Regions from separate parts of the Homo sapiens genome. Here all the other regions are linked to region 1. The links are contacts of gene promoters, found by promoter capture Hi-C in blood cells and fetal thymus (Javierre and others, 2016). All regions are on one chromosome and are shown on one strand. Each heading gives the region's core, a stretch centred on a gene start or on the middle of the fragment in contact. The rest is flanking DNA. Distances are from core to core; before and after follow the strand shown.

Region 1 (3,018 bases), core at 179-2,678:
AGCTCCCAGTATTGGGTTTTGGTGGGGGGGGAGGGGGGACAGCAGCCCAGCCAGCCGCCTCCAGCTCGCGCCAGCCAGTGCCCACAGCCAAGTCTCCAGCTCTTCCTGGGTTTCTGCAGCCAGCTTGTAGGCCCGCCCACCTGTGCCCTCCACCCCAGGGGTCAGGATGGTAAAGGCATAGGGTTCTGCAGCCTTAAGGTGTGGTTCCACCTGGCAGTTCTCTAACAGGATGAGGCTCAGGGGTGCATGGTCGGTCTAGTGTTCTAGGTAGAAGAGGAGGTTTCCTCGGAGGATGAACCATCGGCGCTGGTAGCTGAGGTTTCGGGTCCCCTTCTTTAGCAGAATGCCTTCCTGGTCTGGGGCCTGTGTTCTGTAACCATGGAAGAAACTGAGCACGGACTTTCTGTGCAGTTTTCATCGTGATCCAATATGGGAGGAAACCCCTAGGGAGAGAGAAGTGGCCCATCTAGTTGCCTGGGGGAAGAGTAGGGGAACTCTCATGCTGTCCTCGTCTGGCTTCAGCACGTGCTGCCTGCGCACAGTCTTGGCTTAGGGGGATGCAGGCTCCGAGTGTCAAGAGCTAGGGGTCCCAGCACAGGGGCTGATCCCCGCTACCTCCCCAATTCCCCCTTCTGCTTGGGCCACATTCCGCTACCTGGGCAGGAGTTGCTAGGCCCTGTTTGCTCAGGGGGGCTTCATGCTGCAGAGAGGCACTGTTGCCCTTTTCCAGGCCTACCTGAGAGCAGGGCACAAGGGGCTTCTGGCCTGAGTACTGGCGCCAATGCCACCTCTCCAGTGATGGCTCTCCCACCTCAGAAACCAGGAACTCGCCCAGGGTATGGGCGTGGGACAAATTATTTCCCCTGGGTCCTAAAGGGAGGTGTGTTCAGAAAGTGCCCGGAGAGCCGTCCAGGGGCCCCAGGCTGGCCATCGGGAGAGTCAGGCTTCCCCTCGGAGAGGCAAGGCTGCACCTCTCAGGCTAGGAGGGCTGACCACTGGACCATAGGAATGGGAAGGCAGGATTTCTAACGAGACGGTAGGGGCGCTGAGCCCTTAGCCCTGGGGGAAGGGTGACTTGAACCCAGGACAGGAAAACGGAGCAGCAACCCACTGACCCTGCTCGGACTTTGCCCCTCCATCCTGACCCTGGGCGGCCCTTTAAGCAGATGCGCTCCAGTTTTTCTCCAGAGCCTCTACTGCTTGAATGACGGACTCGAAGCTACTTCCGGCCATTTCTCACGCCCAGTCAGAGTCCAGGAATTCTTAGGTTCCCTCTTCTCACCATTGTCCTCCCACGTGACTGACGTCACTTCTGGCGGGAGAGAGGGTGGAGGCGTCTTCGCTCGCTTATCGCATACTTCCGCCCGCTCTTCCAGTTAGTTCCCTAACCCGAGTGAAGCCACTTCCGGGCTTCCCGGGCGCCTTCCGCAGTCCTCTTCCGGGTGATGGCGGCCGGGTGCCCCGGATGTAGCCCTGGCGCAAGCATCTCTTCTTTTTTCCACCTCGCCTTCCGCGGATTCCCAGGTGAGTGCGCGAGGGTGGGACCGCCCGAATCCCCGTGGCCCTCTAAGTTGTACACAGCCCGGGACAGTTGGGGCTCACCACACGGAATTGGGAGTTCGGAGCAGGGAGGAACGGGGTGGCGAGAGCGCCAGGTCCTGGGTCTGCCGGGGCCCGGCGAGCTCCGAGAGAGCCAGGGTAGAGAGCGGGGGTCAGCCCGTGGAGCCGGTGGCGCGCAGACTGCGGGGGCTGGAGTTGGGGGCGGTCACGTGGTGAAGCCTGTCTCCTTTCAGCCAGGGTCGGGGGATCCAGAGGGTCCGCTCCTCCGTCCCCGCCCCGTTTAACTCGCGGATGCTAGACCCAAGTCCTGGAGGCCTCCTGGCTGCCAGCTTCCTTTCGGCCCCTGCTTTTGTGCTCCCTCCGCTCCCAAACTGTACCTGTCACAGACCAGGAAAAATGTTTGCTGTGCTGCGTCTGTTGGCGAGTCCCCTCCTCACCCGGTTCCCTTCCTCTGCATCCTTTCCTCAGCTTGAGAAACACCTCTTTGCCCCGTCATGCCAAAGAGGAAAGTGACCTTCCAAGGCGTGGGAGATGAGGAGGATGAGGATGAAATCATTGTCCCCAAGAAGAAGGTGAGGGGGCCAGACTGCTTTGTGTGGGGGAAAGAGGAGCTAGAAGCCTGAAGAGGAAGAAAGCTGGCGGGAGAGGGGCGGGGCGGGCAGGCAGAGAAAAGCCTAGTTTTTTCAGGTTCTCTGAGGAATGGGTTGGGAGCGTCTTTAGTGTGGCTCCTGAAATATTTGGGGAAGTAGTCGAGATCCTGAAATATTTGGGGAATATTTGGGTCCAGATCCGGAAGTATTTGGGGAGGTAGCCAGTAACCTGCATTTCTCAACTTTCTGGCTCCTGCTCACAGCTGGTGGACCCTGTGGCTGGGTCAGGGGGTCCTGGGAGCCGCTTTAAAGGCAAACACTCTTTGGATAGCGATGAGGAGGAGGATGATGATGATGGGGGGTCCAGCAAATATGACATCTTGGCCTCAGAGGATGTAGAAGGTAAGCTGTACCCAAGAATACACTCTGCTGGAAAAACAAGTAGGGGCCTCTGGTGGTGTGGAGCGAGGGAGGCTCCGGTCTCTTTTTTCCATGCCTGGAAAAGGGCACCTGTGTCTTTGGTGCAGGTCAGGAGGCAGCCACACTCCCCAGCGAGGGGGGTGTTCGGATCACACCCTTTAACCTGCAGGAGGAGATGGAGGAAGGCCACTTTGATGCCGATGGCAACTACTTCCTGAACCGGGATGCTCAGATCCGAGACAGCTGGCTGGACAACATTGACTGGGTGCGGCCCAGGGGCTGGCGTGGCTGGGGCCTGGGAGTGGCAGATGCTGGGCCTGCTCCCGTGGCAGTTGGTGGGAAATCACTCCATCTTCCCATTACAGGTGAAGATCCGGGAGCGGCCACCTGGCCAGCGCCAGGCCTCAGACTCGGAGGAGGAGGACAGCTTGGGCCAGACCTCAATGAG
Region 2 (3,018 bases), core at 138-2,637, 660 kb after region 1:
GCTGCTCTAGCCCCCTCAAATGCATCCTTCTGCAACGGACTGGATTGAAGCTGCGAATAAGCTTATCTGATTTTCCAGCTTGATTTCCAGCTCACTCATGAGACAGAGTCCAAATCCTCCGATCTACCATTTTGTGGTCTGGACCCAGCCCATCTCCTAGCCACCTCCTGATCACAGCTTCAAATCTTACAGCAAACAATCCAAGCCACCTCTGCCCATGCATCTCCCCTGCCTGGAAATCCATTTCCCTGCAAGGAGGGCGTGTGTTGCCCTAGAGTGCCCAGGATCCATTTCCTGTTCCCCCAGTAATGGAGTGCCCGCCCCAGCTCTCAGAGCTGGAGGATACTGGAGGGCTAACCCATTTCTGGGTTTAGGGGGAGCTTAAGACTCAGGCAGGCAGGTTCCTTTCGCTTTTTTAATGGAACGCTGTGGCTGCAACGAGCATTTTCCAGTTGGCCACAGCGCACCCCCACTTTGTCTTATTCCAGTTCCACCCATTTATTTTATCCGAATAGGTCCTGGAGGCACCGAGTTTGCAGCTCCTGGTACCCTCTCCTCACTTCTGCTCTGTCAGGCCCCAATGCCTGCCCAGATCCCAGATCCCAGTTCCCAGATCACCCCGGGGCTCAACTTTCCTCCCTTGATGCCCAGTGGAACCCCTGGTCCCATGGGGCTTCAGTTTCCCCAGTTCAGGCATAAGAAGCTGGGGTTCATCTGAGCGTGTCCATGTTCCCCCTGGAGGAAGGACGGGAGCAGGCAGGGTGGAGCTGGGATTAGAGGGGACAGGGCAGCTGCAGGTGGCACCTCTGGGCTGTGTCCTCTTGTAGCAGGACGAGCCACAGACAAAACTCCTCAGGCACCGGATTAAAGAAGGAAGAGGTTTATTTGGCCAGGAGCATTGGCAGACTTGCATCTTAATAGCTGAGATCCCTGAAAAAGAAATTCTTGGCCTTTTTAAAGGCTTACAACTCTAAGGGGTCCACGTGAAAGGGTCATGATATCTCAAGCAAGCGGGGAACGTGACTGGGGGCTACACGCATCAGCTAACAGAGCAGAAAGTTTTGCAATGCTTTTTCATACAATGTCTGGAATTTACAGATAACACAAGTAGTTTAGGTCAGGGGTTGATATTATTATTATTGTTACTTTTTTTTAACTACCAGGGCCGGGTGGTGTCGCCAAGGTCTTCTGGCTATTTATCTTACTTCTGTTTTGTTTTGTTTTCTAACTTTTTGCTTTCTCTCTTTCCTCCTGTCTTGTAAACTAGGCAAGGTGGGGGGAGGAGGGCAGCAGGAGTAGTAGTGGTCTCCTTCTTACTGTGGGACTGGCCCCTTTGGTTTAGGGTATCACCAAAGGCAGTGTCTAGGCCAGCCCAGTGTCTCTGCCCAGCAAACCTCCATCTGCTGTGCACTCACAGCCAGGCCATGCTGGTGTTTGGTACAGGTTGGGTGCATGAAGGATGAAGGTTTTGGCCTGTCTGGGGCTTTTGCCTGCCTTTCTTCCTTTCTTTCCATCCTTCCTTTCCCTCCCTCCCTCCCTCCCTCTCTCTTTCTCTCTTTCTTTCCTTTGTTTCTTCTTTGGAGACAGAGTCTCGCTCTATCACCCAGGCTGGAGTGCAGTGGCACCATCAGCTCACTGCAACCTCCACTTCCTGGGTTCAAGCGATTCTCCTGCCTCAGCCTCCTAAGTAGCTGGGATTACAGGCGCGTGCCACCACACCCAGCTAATTCTTCTATTTTTGGTAGAGATGGGGTTTCACCATGTTGGCCAGGCTGGTCTCAAACTCCTGAACTCAAGTGATCTTCCCGCCTCAGCCTCCCAAAGTGCTGGGATTACAGGTGTGAGCCATCGTGCCCGGCTGTCCCAGGTAACTTCTGACATTTGCTGACCCCTCACTATGTGCTCATTATCACCGCAGAACCCCATGTGGTTGATCCTTTATTAGACCCATTTTACAGATTAGGAAACTGAGATGAGCAGAGGTGAAGTCAGCCCTGACAGGTCACAGGAGCAGCAGGTGGCAGAGCCAGAGTTGGGCTCAAGCTAGTGCCAAATGTGCCCCATTGGCCACTGACCCTAAAGATGTGTGACCCAGAGGGTCCTGAGGAGCCACGTTAACCCATGGCCGGTGTCATCCTCTTCCGGTTTAGGACTAGTGGATTTTGGGCACTGGAGCCACCTCTTTGGCAAACAGCTTGAGGGAGAAATCAAGGGCTGGGGCCGCCTGGGTCAGCATCCCCATGGAGATGACGTCTATGTGCGGCCCGCAGAACTGGGGGAGGTTGTCCAGGGTGATGCCCCCACTGGCTTCCACAGCCACACTCGGGAACTGGGCCTTCAGCACGGTGGCCGTGGGGTGCAGCTCCTGCGGGACACAAGCCAAGGGGAGGTAAGAGCCCACCACAGATCCCTCCCCGGAGGCAGAGCCCACCTTACCTCTGGCTTGAAGTTGTCCAGCAGGACAAGGTCGGCACCAGCCTCAGCTGCCTGCACGGCCTCCTGCAGGCTGCTGCATTCCACTTCCACCTTCAGAGTGAAGTCAGCCGCCTGTCTGGCCGCCCGCACCGCCTGCTGGGCAGCCGGGAGGACAAGGGTGAGGACTGGGCCCAGCACCTGGCACTGGGGCGCAGGGAGCCGGGAGGGCGAGGGTGACGATAGGGCCCAGCACTGCAGCTGGGGCGCGGGGAGCCGGGACTGACATTTGAAAAGCTTCGGGTGGACCATGAACTTGGGGTTAATAAGGAAACCAGACTTTGGGGTTGTTTTTGCTTTGTTTTGTTTTTGAGACAGGGTCTCAACCTGTCGCCCAGGCTGGAGTGCAGTGGTGCAATGATAGCTCACTGCAGCCTCTACCTCCTGGGATCAAGTGATTCTCCCACCTCAGTCTCCCGAGTAGCTGGGACTACAGGTGCGTGCCACCATGCCCAGCTAATTTTTGTATTTTTAATAGAGACGACGTTTCACCATGGTGGCCAGGATGGTCTCTAACTCATGACCTCGTGATCCACCCATCTCAGC
Region 3 (3,018 bases), core at 360-2,859, 560 kb after region 1:
GTAGGAGGGAAGAGGGGAGGGCCACATGTAAACAATTATTTACTGCACAAGAGTCTAGCCCTTTCATGATAAAAGCAACCTTGAGCTTGGACCAGGCTAGCAATTATTAATTTTCCCTTCTTTCACAATTCCTAAATTTCATTCACTCTTCTCCCTTTTATTGATGAGGAAATTGAGCTAAGAGAGCATCTTACATCATAAATAAGAAAACACTTGCTGTTCTTGTCTTCTTAGTCAAGGCCTGGCAAACTCCTATCCAACCTTTGAAACCCATCTCAAGTATCATTCACTCCCTTAATGAAGTCCTCCCAGAATACTCAAGGGCTTACTTCAGATTCCACACCCTCAGTTTATACACATCTCTCATTGTGTTTCGTATTACATCTACGTATGTGACACTCTATTGAAACAGACTGTAAATTCCTCGAGGAAGGGACATTATTCATTCAGGCATTTTCATATCTACCATGCACCGGACACAGTGCATCTTCGAAGGGTAAGGGGAGACTGTGCTCAGCCAGCAGGGATAACATGTACTTGGGCATAATGGTTAAGAGCAGAGGTTCTACACTCAGACTCCTTGAGAGCGAATTCAAGCCCCAATATTTACTAGTTGTGTTAACTCTGAACAAACTAACCTCAGTTTCCTGTGTAAAACAAAGACAGTAATAGTAACAACCTGATAGCATTGTGTGGACAATAAATGGTTCACCACCATAAAATGCCTACAACTGTGCCTGGCACATAGCAAGAGCTCTACATGTGTTAGGCATTCTCCTAAATGTCTGTTTCCCCACGAGGCTAACGAGGGCTCCAGTGAATTACTATGGCGCTCACCATCATCACTAACGAGGATTAAGTCTCCGGGTTAGAGAGGCACATGTAAACAAATACTCACATACAAGATTTTGGGTGTCCTAACAGCCTTTCCAACCCTAAAATAGCATTCACTTCCATGCTAGAGTGAAAGGAAATTTTAGTCTTTTATTTCGTTTTCCTGTAATCGCAGAGCATCTTACGCTGCCAACTCAAACCCAGCAGCAGCCGGGTCTGTTCCTCAGCCCGTCCTCTTGCATCTCTCAGGGATGTCTCTGCACCCAAACACCATGTCCCACACAGAACCCTTCCCAATACACGCCTCCGGCTCCCTTCTTCTCGTCCTCGTGGCTAGAGCGTCCGCCACTCTTCTCTTGCTTATTCAGGTGATCTCCAGGGATGAGGCCATGACCCCCGTTTCACAGACGAAGAAACCGAAGCTCACAAAGAAAAAGTGCGCGGGGTTCAAGCCAAGAGCCTGGACCGGAGACCCGAGTCTACTGACCCAAGGGGAGAGCAGGAAACAGGGAGAAGGCAGGAGCCAGGCGGGGCGACCGGCTCGCGACCCCACACTCTCACCGTCCCCCTCTCCCCGCCCCTGCGCCATGGCCGCCTCTCCGCGACAACCCGCAGAGCCTGGACCACACTCCGACACATAACTCCCACTAAACTCCAGACGTCGGTACCCGCCTTGCCCAGGCCGGGCTCAAGTACCTGAGATCGCCGCCGCTGAAGCTGCCGCCATCTCGCGTCGCCTCTGCTGCGTCGAGCCGCCCGCGGCCATTCCACTCCCTCCTTGGGCCCGCCTCTCCCATTCGAATTCCCCGGTGCCCCGCCCCCTCTCCCAGGTTCCACCAATCAAGACTACGCGCCGCCGGAAGCTGCTGCGTGTGGGTCGCCACTATCCCGCCTTCCAGCGCTCGCCTCCGGGTCCCCAAGAAAAGGTTCCCCTGGTCAGGACGCATGCGCGCGCGTGGGCCGCGCAGCCGTTGATGTCTGGAAGCGCGCTGCGATACAAACCCCTACGCAGGGATGTTGGCGACGGTGGCCGCTGGGGGAGCTGCTCAGCGCCGCCCGGCACTGGGCTCCCTTTCCCTTTACTTTCTGCAGTTTCTTGCCTCCGTGGGTGGTTGGCGCGTCTGCGGAGCCAGGGTCGTTGTGTGGATCGTGGGACTGCAGCCCCAGCCAAAGGGCTATCACGTCTGGTCGGTTCTGTAGATCTGGGCCCCAGGGGCTGGACTCTGGGCAGTCACGTTGCAGTCGCTGCCTGCTGGGCCCAAGGCCACTGTAGGTCCCCTCGCGTCCGTGTCAGCCCAGGAGAGCAGCTTGGATGTTCCTGTCTTTATAACTTGGCACTCAGCACGTCGGCGAAGCGTGGAAAACGCTTAGTCTGTGATTCAGTCCCACTCACCCACGGTTCCGGTTCCCAGTCCTTAAGAGTACAGCAGTCCGTTGAGTAGCTCTCTGTCCTTTCTGAAGGGTTGGCTAGGGACGGTCATTCCACTTTTGAGCACCAGGTAGGTAGGGCCCAGGTTTAGACATTATGTTCCACCCTGTTGAACAACAAAACAAAACACGGGCCGGGCGCGGTGGCTCAGTCCTGTAATCCCAGCACTTTGGGAGGCTGAGGCGGGAGGCTCACCTGAGGTGAGGAGCTCGAGACCAGCCTGGCCAACATGGCGAAACCCCGTCTCTACTAAAAACACAAAAATTAGCCGGGGATGGTGGCACGCCTGTAGTCCTAGCTACTCGGGAGGCTGAGGCAGGAGAATCGCTTGAACCCGGGAGGTGTAGGTTGCAATGAGCCGAGATGGTGCCACCGCACTCCAGCCACGGCGCCAGAGTGAGACTCCGTCTCAAAACAAAAAACACAAATCTTAGATCAGTGTTTCTGAAACGTTTTGCCTTGGGATCCCACTACAGTTTTTAAAAATGAGGCCTCCAAAGATGTTTTGTGTATATGAGGGTTTTTGTTTTTTTGTTTTTGAGACGGGGTTTCACTTCCATCTCCCAGGCTAGAGTGCAGTGGCTCAATCTCGGTTCACTCCAACCTCTGCCTCTTGGGTTCAAGTGATTCTCCTGCCTCAGCCTCCCGAGTAGCTGGGATTACAGGTGTGCACCACCACGCTCAGCTAATTTTTGTATTTTTATGGAGACAGGGTTTCACCATGTTGGCCAGGCTGGTCTCAAACTCCTGACCTC

What was found. Contacts are between HindIII fragments. The CHiCAGO score rates a contact against its expected background, and 5 or more counts as called.
Region 2: a fragment that was not itself captured here is called in contact with the fragment with the promoter of CD2BP2 in region 1 in 1 of 17 cell types (neutrophils); the score reaches 5.1 in neutrophils.
Region 3: a contact is called between the fragment with the promoter of KIF22 here and the fragment with the promoter of CD2BP2 in region 1, in 2 of 17 cell types (neutrophils and monocytes). The highest score is 6.9, in neutrophils.

Annotation. Positions count from the first base shown.
Region 1 is chr16:30,353,718-30,356,735 of GRCh38, reverse strand. CD2BP2 (CD2 cytoplasmic tail binding protein 2) reads left to right here and starts at 1,428. Exons shown (of 7, transcript NM_006110.3): 1 at 1,428-1,524; 2 at 2,029-2,132; 3 at 2,414-2,552; 4 at 2,678-2,835; 5 at 2,936-3,018. The coding sequence starts at 2,055. CD2BP2-DT (CD2BP2 divergent transcript) reads right to left here and starts at 1,302. Exons shown (of 2, transcript NR_184233.1): 1 at 1,116-1,302; 2 at 1-443. RefSeq lists enhancers at 1,257-1,316, 1,397-1,456, 511-1,462, 1,194-1,488, 1,179-2,378 and 1 more. The HindIII fragment of the contact is 7,065 bases long and covers 1-3,018 here.
Region 2 is chr16:29,696,546-29,699,563 of GRCh38, reverse strand. It overlaps QPRT (quinolinate phosphoribosyltransferase), which reads right to left. Exons shown (of 4, transcript NM_014298.6): 3 at 2,437-2,568; 4 at 865-2,365. The coding sequence ends at 2,153. Among named protein-coding and RNA genes, the nearest start is that of QPRT, 19 kb to the right of the region's middle. RefSeq lists a silencer at 1-111. The HindIII fragment of the contact is 2,648 bases long and covers 64-2,711 here.
Region 3 is chr16:29,789,342-29,792,359 of GRCh38, reverse strand. KIF22 (kinesin family member 22) reads right to left here and starts at 1,609. Exons shown (of 14, transcript NM_007317.3): 1 at 1,531-1,609. The coding sequence starts at 1,600. RefSeq lists an enhancer at 1,799-2,198. The HindIII fragment of the contact is 11,757 bases long and covers 1-3,018 here.